Regions from separate parts of the Homo sapiens genome. Here region 2 is linked to region 1. The links are contacts of gene promoters, found by promoter capture Hi-C in human tissues and cell types (Jung and others, 2019). All regions are on one chromosome and are shown on one strand. The core of a region is centred on a gene start or on the middle of the fragment in contact, and the rest is flanking DNA. Distances in the headings are between cores, read along the strand shown. Region 1 holds the start of CCDC82 (coiled-coil domain containing 82). Region 2 has its middle 76 kb from the start of FAM76B.

Region 1 (3,912 bases), core at 1-2,500:
CTCAAGAAAAGATTCATTCTAGAAATCACCTACTTGCTGTATAAACAATGCAGGTGGTAGTTAACACTTTACAGATTTGAAAGGCAGTGGAACCCCAGGTCATTATTTGAAATTCTACCAGGAGGGATCCATTCTTGGGTGTAAAACATCACTCCTCTTCGATGTTTTCTTTTATATGGCAGTTTGGAGAGCAAAGATTAATAAGCCGAAAAATAATTATTGAATATCTACCAAAATGCAAGCACCTGCTAGGAACTGTGCTGCCACCATTTCAAATAAACATGGTCTCTGCTCCCAAGGAGCTCACAATCTGATGAAATTACTAGGGACACCAAAAACAAGCCAGCATAATACACGATTTGAGGGCTACAGTGTATGATTAAGATCAAGTTCTTATCACACTGCTATGAATAAATTTATCATAGTTCTTCTATTGGCAGGAAAACAAGACAGAACATGACAGAAATAGGATATAAGAAAATAAACATAAAGAGAGGAAAGCCTATTTCCCCCACTTAGAATCACAGTCCAACAGTCCACAATTTCGCAAAGTGGATCCTGCCAGCATGGTATCCGGGATAACTATATTATTCATTAAAATCCGTTAACAATGAAGGTTAATGCAGCAGGAATGAGTGGTAGACAGTGGAATAGATCCTCTCAGGAATTAACACCCGGAAGGGTGACTTTCATGATTACAAACCTCTTTGGCGGGACGCAGGAACCCAGCGCCCGCTAGCCCACTAGTCCGTCACTCTGCCTCCAGGAGGGAGGGGCACAGTAGCTAGGAAACCGGACCCTCAGGCCAAGCTTCGCGATGACGCGCGCAGGACGACGGAAACCCCCAGACCCCAAAAGAGCTCTGCACCGAGAAAACAATTACAAGGGTCTGGAAAGGCCAGAAACCCGAGAAATCACCAACCGAGCTCCCTACATCAGTTCCAAGCACCTCCCCAAGGCGGAAATAACGGGCACCGCGCCCACTGCAGCTCAGCTGAGGAGGGTTAGAGGCGCAAAGGGCTGAGGGGCGTTCTCCGGCCCACCCAAAGAGCGCCCGCGGGAATTTTTCTCTTAGTCCGCGAGGAGGCACGGCTTCCCCCGCCCCTCTCATAAACCATTAGCACCGGGAGCGCGAGCGAGTCCCAGCCGGGAGACAGCCCCGCACCGCCCTCGCGCTCTCACCTTTCAAAGCGCCTCCACCTCTGCCTCCGCCTCCGCCCCTGCCCCGGCAACCAGCTCAGGACAAGCGATGCTCCTCCCCCCCTTCCGGGGACCAAGGGAAGTCCCGCCTCTGGGTGGGGCGAGGGGTGGGGCCAGGCGGCGGGAGGGATCATCTTCCGGGAGCGTGGCTAGGGGCGGAGCGACTGCCGCGCGATAGTCAGGGAGCTGTGCGGGTCCTGGTTGCAAGAGAGGTGGGGAGAGGGGCCTGGCGGGTTTTGAGGGACTGGGAGGACTGTCCCGGCTAAAGCTGGCGCGGGAAACTGGGGCTGCGCGGCGGGAGGGCCCTGCTGCTGGGGAAGGAATCTAATATATCCGTTCCCCTGAGGAAGGGTGCCAGTCCTTGACTCCTAGGCTCTTCGGCTCTCTGTCGTAACTTTGGGGTGTGGCAGGGGTTAGTGACGCGCGGTTACCCGGGATCTGGACGTGCAGGAGGTTCGTGGCCACAATGGGGGTATAGTCTTTCTCACGGCTGCTGGGGTAATAAAACACATGCTTTTAATCCGGATTATCCGCGGTGACATGGGGCCTCCGCTACTGCCCGTATAAGTTAAAGAAAGGCCTGTTCTCTCAAACTTCCTCCTCTTTCACCTTCTTCTGCAGTCTATTTGCCAGCCAACCCCAGCCCGGGAGGGGATCAGGGCCACCAGGTTGCTGGTAAGGATGAAAGACTGAGTGTGTTAAGACTGTTGAAGTGAGCCTGTGTAAGAGAAGGAAGGATTTTGTGGATTGCTACATTGTGAGTGTGGGGTGAGTCCCAGAACCTCGCTATGTCAGGGAAACGGAAGCGTGTGGTGTTGACTATTAAAGATAAGCTTGATATAATAAAGAAACTTGAAGACGGAGGTTCTTCCAAACAACTGGCAGTGATTTATGGAATTGGTGAAACAACAGTTCGGGATATAAGAAAAAATAAGGAAAAGATTATAACTTATGCAAGCAGTTCTGATTCCACAAGTCTTTTGGCCAAGAGGAAATCTATGAAGCCATCCATGTATGAGGAATTGGACAGGGCAATGCTGGAATGGTTCAACCAGCAAAGAGCAAAAGGGAATCCCATATCTGGACCAATTTGTGCAAAAAGGGCAGAGTTCTTCTTTTATGCTTTGGGAATGGATGGTGATTTTAACCCCTCTGCCGGTTGGCTAACTCGTTTTAAGCAGCGGCACAGCATTAGAGAGATTAACATTAGAAATGAAAGATTAAATGGAGATGAGACTGCGGTGGAAGATTTTTGTAATAACTTTCGAGATTTTATTGAACGAGAGAATTTACAGCCTGAACAAATCTACAATGCAGATGAAACTGGACTCTTTTGGAAGTGCTTGCCTTCTAGGATTTCAGTAATCAAAGGTAAATGCACTGTCCCTGGGCACAAATCAATTGAAGAAAGAGTCACAATCATGTGTTGTGCCAATGCAACAGGTTTACACAAACTTAAACTTTGTGTTGTGGGGAAAGCAAAGAAACCTCGCTCCTTTAAATCAACTGACACCTTAAACCTGCCAGTCTCTTATTTCAGCCAAAAAGGTGCATGGATGGATCTTTCCATTTTCCGACAATGGTTTGATAAAATTTTTGTGCCGCAAGTTCGAGAGTATTTAAGATCTAAAGGCTTGCAGGAAAAGGCTGTGCTCTTGTTGGATAATTCACCAACACATCCAAATGAAAATGTCCTAAGGTCAGATGATGGCCAAATATTTGCTAAATATTTACCACCTAATGTGGCCTCATTGATTCAGCCTTCAGATCAGGGAGTCATAGCAACGATGAAGAGAAATTATCGTGCAGGTCTTCTCCAGAACAACTTGGAAGAAGGTAATGACCTGAAATCATTCTGGAAGAAGCTAACTCTGTTGGATGCACTTTATGAAATAGCAATGGCATGGAACTTAGTAAAACCAGTTACCATTAGCAGAGCATGGAAGAAGATTCTCCCTATGGTAGAGGAGAAAGAGAGCCTGGACTTTGATGTTGAAGATATTTCTGTGGCTACTGTGGCTGCCATTTTACAACACACCAAAGGATTGGAAAATGTGACTACTGAGAACCTTGAAAAATGGCTTGAAGTAGACAGTACTGAACCAGGCTATGAAGTGTTAACTGATAGCGAAATCATCAGAAGAGCACAAGGCCAGGCAGATGAATCCAGTGAAAATGAGGAGGAGGAAATAGAACTAATTCCAGAGAAACATATTAATCATGCAGCTGCCCTCCAGTGGACTGAAAATTTATTGGATTATCTAGAACAACAAGGTGATATGATTCTACCTGATAGACTGGTAATACGTAAACTTCGAGCCACCATCAGAAATAAACAGAAGATGACAAAGTCAAGTCAATAATGTCATTTCAATTTTATTGTTCTGCTCATTGTGTTTGTGACAAACTCTTTGCAATATGGCTTAATTTTCTTTGTGTTCTGAATTCTCAGACTTGGTCCTGTGAAATACAGGCACAAAATGTATCTGAAGTGGTTTGAGGATTATGTGTTTTCATCATCTGTGTCTTTTGTCCTTTTATTTGTACAGATAATCAGAAGATGATACTGAATAGATATAAATTACATGTACACATGTATTCACTTTTTAGAATCTGCAATTATACCTTCTGTAACAGTGGCATTCCCTTAATTTTCTAGTGAAAGTTAGAGATAACTGAACAGACTGAAGCACTTTTCTGAAATCTTTTGCT
Region 2 (3,718 bases), core at 706-3,205, 680 kb before region 1:
TTTCTGTGAAAAGTAACAGCTCCTTTTCCTTAGCTAAAACCTGAAAAGTCTGTGCTCTCTGTAAAATCCAAATTGGCCAATGAGTTTGAAAGAATATTGATACTGAAACCACCAACACAGAGAAAGCAGAAATGTCCCTTTTAGCAGCAATGTGGCACATAAAGACTGGACGTAAAGGTATATAATTCAGCATACTTATTATTTCCAGAGGGCTAAGGGCACTTAAGTTCAGTAAGCTCCATGGTCCTAATAGCCTAATATTGTGTATTTCTCATGCCTGATTCAAAATCACAAAACTCACCAGCTCATTTTGTTACTGAGAAAAAACGAGTTATGACTTAGAAGGGACCATGAAGGAAAACTAAGGCAACCTGTATAAAGCACAACAGAATATTAAGTGTGCATGTCACTTGGCTGGGACACCAGAGTATCACAGGCAAAGGGGTAGAGTTGTGGTGGATGCTGAAAATGGCTGGGTAGAGACCCTCAAGGGAGACTAGAGATAACTGTGGCTAGAAGACAAAAAGACCTGTGGGTAGGAGGTAGTGAAAGTGATTAAATCCTCCTCCTGAAGCATATTAGGGAGCAGTTGAGTCATGGGTATCAGAATGAGCCCAAGCAAAATGGTTCCTGTAATATTAAGCCATTACAGGCAAGCAAGGTCAAGGACGCTCACAAGAGGAGAAATACAGAGATGTGACAGAGAGATTTCCAGCTTCACATAGTAACGCCCGAATTGATGTTTTATCCTAATTAAAGCTTAATATAACTCTGTGGTAAGAGTTTCTTGCCCCATATATTCTGAGATATACTTCTGAACAAAGGAAATGTGCCGACTGAGAAATATTCCATGAAACTAATTGCTTGATAAATGTGTGCAAAAACACATAACACAGAGATATTAAACAGGAAAGCTGGGAGAAGTTCTGTGCTAAAGTCAATAGAATAAAATCAAACCAAAATGGTAGAGTGTGGGATAATGCAAAGAATGTCAATTATACAATTCCATTGTATAATACCACCATATAACTAGGTTCTATAAGTCCACACACACACCTAGGGAGGTAGTCTTATTTACCTCTTTCAACTTTTATGTTCTGACTAATACGTATTAGAGTCAATATTGGTATGTTGATTCCATATGACTTGTTGATTAGGGATCAGATGAGAAGATTATTCTAATACTGAAATACTCCTTTTTCACCTATGACTTAATCACCTAACTAAAGTTTACTGTGTTCTTTGGGAATCCAAAGTGGGTGGTGGGAAAATGGAATTGTCCCTGGCATCTTTCCCAAACTACACATACCCACCCATCCATAGATGCTGATGGGCCCTTAAGGGAAACCTCCCACCTTCCCACCCCTCCAGAGGCACAGTGCTGCTGACAGACACAAATTATCAGGTGCACTGAGTGAGGAAAAAATGTTAGAACCATCAGCAAAATAGGAAAAACCACTGGACTACAGTCTGATGGAACTGGAATTGAATTTGGGTTCTCACCCATACTAGCTCTTTGTTTCAGACAGTTACTTAACCTCTCTGCTCCATTTCCTCATCTTCAAGGAAAGGGGGGACAATAAGAGCTAATTCCCAAGTTTAAACATTAAATAAGATGATTTATGTGATAAAGATATTAAATGTTTGTAAAATTTGAATAATATTGTGCCATTCATAACTATCTATGTTATTTTAGCAAACAAATATGTCAGATTCCACCCACTGTTTTTATTTTATTTCCCCTTATTTTCATTTATATCACCTTCCACTGGTTTGTACTAAAAGGATTTCCTGGACTGTATGTTTTTAATGTTTGTAGAAAGAAAGCTCTCAAAGGAAAGACTCTTTCCTCTATATCCAATGGAATCATTGGCACAAAATTTAGGAAGTTAAGAAGAAATAACATTCTTACAGTTATTTGATTCAACATGGAAATTTCTTTTAGGATGAACTTTTTGCTGATGTCATTGGCTCGGAGTAAAACTGCCAAATATAAAGATATGATTCCAGCATTAATAGAGCAAAACTGTGAAACTGTACCAACCAACCTGAATTGTATTCTCATTAGTGCTGTCAATTAATGAAGTTAGACAAACGATTTTCCCACATTACAATGTAGTCTACTCAAAAGCCTAAGGAATGCCACCTGCCCATCAAAAATGAATAAATGTGACGTAATTCCATTGTATAATACCACCATATAACTAGGTTCTGTAAGTCCACATACACACCTAGGGAGGTAGTCTTATTTACCTCTTTCAACTTTATATTCTGACTAATATGTATTAGAGTCAATATTGGTATGTTGATTCCATATGGCTTGTTGATTGGGGAATCAGATGAGAAGATTATTCTAATACTGAAATACTCCTTTTTCACCTAATGGTTTAATCACCTAATTAAAGTTTACTGTGTTCTTTGGGAATCCAAAGTGACCATTGGTGAACCTGACAAAAAAAATTCATCTTCTTAGAATTTTGTGATGTAATTAATATTTATTTTGGAACCCTCAGCACCCCAGAGAAGAGTTAGGTATAGAAAGAAACTCTAAAAAGCATATAAGTGCCCCAGAAGATTTTCCCCTTCCTCCCTGTCACATACCTCTTTGCCTCAACCCACTTAAATTCTGAGAAAAAAATCAATACAGTTAAATGAATGTAAGTATGGGTTTATCATTGTCTCTTTAAGTAGAATTATGTCCACGTTTTACAAGTTCCATTTCTTTAGGTGTCAAAAACTAGTTTTATTTAGCTGAGGTTGAGAATATTGGGCAGAGTCAAGGTGAGCATCTAGTGAAAAGCTTTGGAAACACTCCAGGTATAAAGCTGAAGACATTAATCACCAGAATAACAAATGAAATTGAACTGTTCTAGAATTGGGCTCCTTCACCTCATTTTCCACTTCTTCTTCCAGTGTGGTCATCAGGATTCAATCCTGGTCCTATGCTGTCCATAAGATAATACCAAAGGGAGCAGACACTCAACATTTACTTCTTTTTATCTCGACTCTAATCAAGAAAATATGACAATATTTCTGATATCTCTTCTCAAAAAACTTTTTTTTTACTCTAAGTTCTGGGATACATGTGCAGAATGTGCAGGTTTGTTACATAGGTATACATGTGCCATGGTGGTTTGCTGCACCTGTCAACGCATCATCTAGGTTTTAAGCCCCGTATGCATTAGGTATTTGTTCTAATGCTCTCCGTTCCCTTGCCCACTACTGCCTGACAGCCCCAGTGTGTGATGTTCCCCTCTCAGTGTCCATGTGTTCTCGTTTTTCAACTCTCACTTATGAGTGAGAAGATGCAGTGTTTGGTTTTCTGTTCCTGCGCTAGTTTGCTGAGAATACCTGAAAGCTTTGAAAAATCAGATTATCATTAAGAAATAATTCTTAAACTCAAAAATTTTGCCCAAAGAACTTCCTTCTCTGGAGACCTGAAAGAACAAATTAAATACTCATCATAAATATCCAAGTGCAAAACTACCAGTTTTGCATTTATAAAACTACCAGTTTGCACATGAGGAAACTAAGATTCAGGAAGTGTAAATGATTTACCCCGGCATGAAGCTAGTTAATAGAAGAGCAGGTTGCTCCTTACTCTTACTATCTTACTTTTTTGTTAATCATTTATACACAAATCCTGAGTACCTACCATATCCATGGCACTAAGGGCTGTGAAGGGAACAAATCCAAAACATTCATGGTTCCTCCTCCC

Evidence for each region. Contacts are between HindIII fragments. The study calls those that stand out against the background at their distance.
Region 2: a contact is called between a fragment that was not itself captured here and the fragment with the promoter of CCDC82 in region 1, in 1 of the 25 tissues and cell types used here (lymphoblastoid cells).

What each region holds. Positions count from the first base shown.
Region 1 is chr11:96,388,662-96,392,573 of GRCh38, forward strand. It overlaps CCDC82 (coiled-coil domain containing 82), which reads right to left and starts at 1,251. Exons shown (of 10, transcript NM_024725.4): 1 at 1,183-1,251. It overlaps JRKL (JRK like), which reads left to right and starts at 1,352. Exons shown (of 2, transcript NM_001261833.2): 1 at 1,352-1,412; 2 at 1,822-3,912. The coding sequence starts at 1,989. The coding sequence ends at 3,563. RefSeq lists a silencer at 1,165-1,424. The HindIII fragment of the contact is 6,698 bases long and covers 1-3,912 here.
Region 2 is chr11:95,711,464-95,715,181 of GRCh38, forward strand. No RefSeq gene overlaps it. Among named protein-coding and RNA genes, the nearest start is that of FAM76B, 76 kb to the right of the region's middle. The HindIII fragment of the contact is 3,685 bases long and covers 114-3,718 here.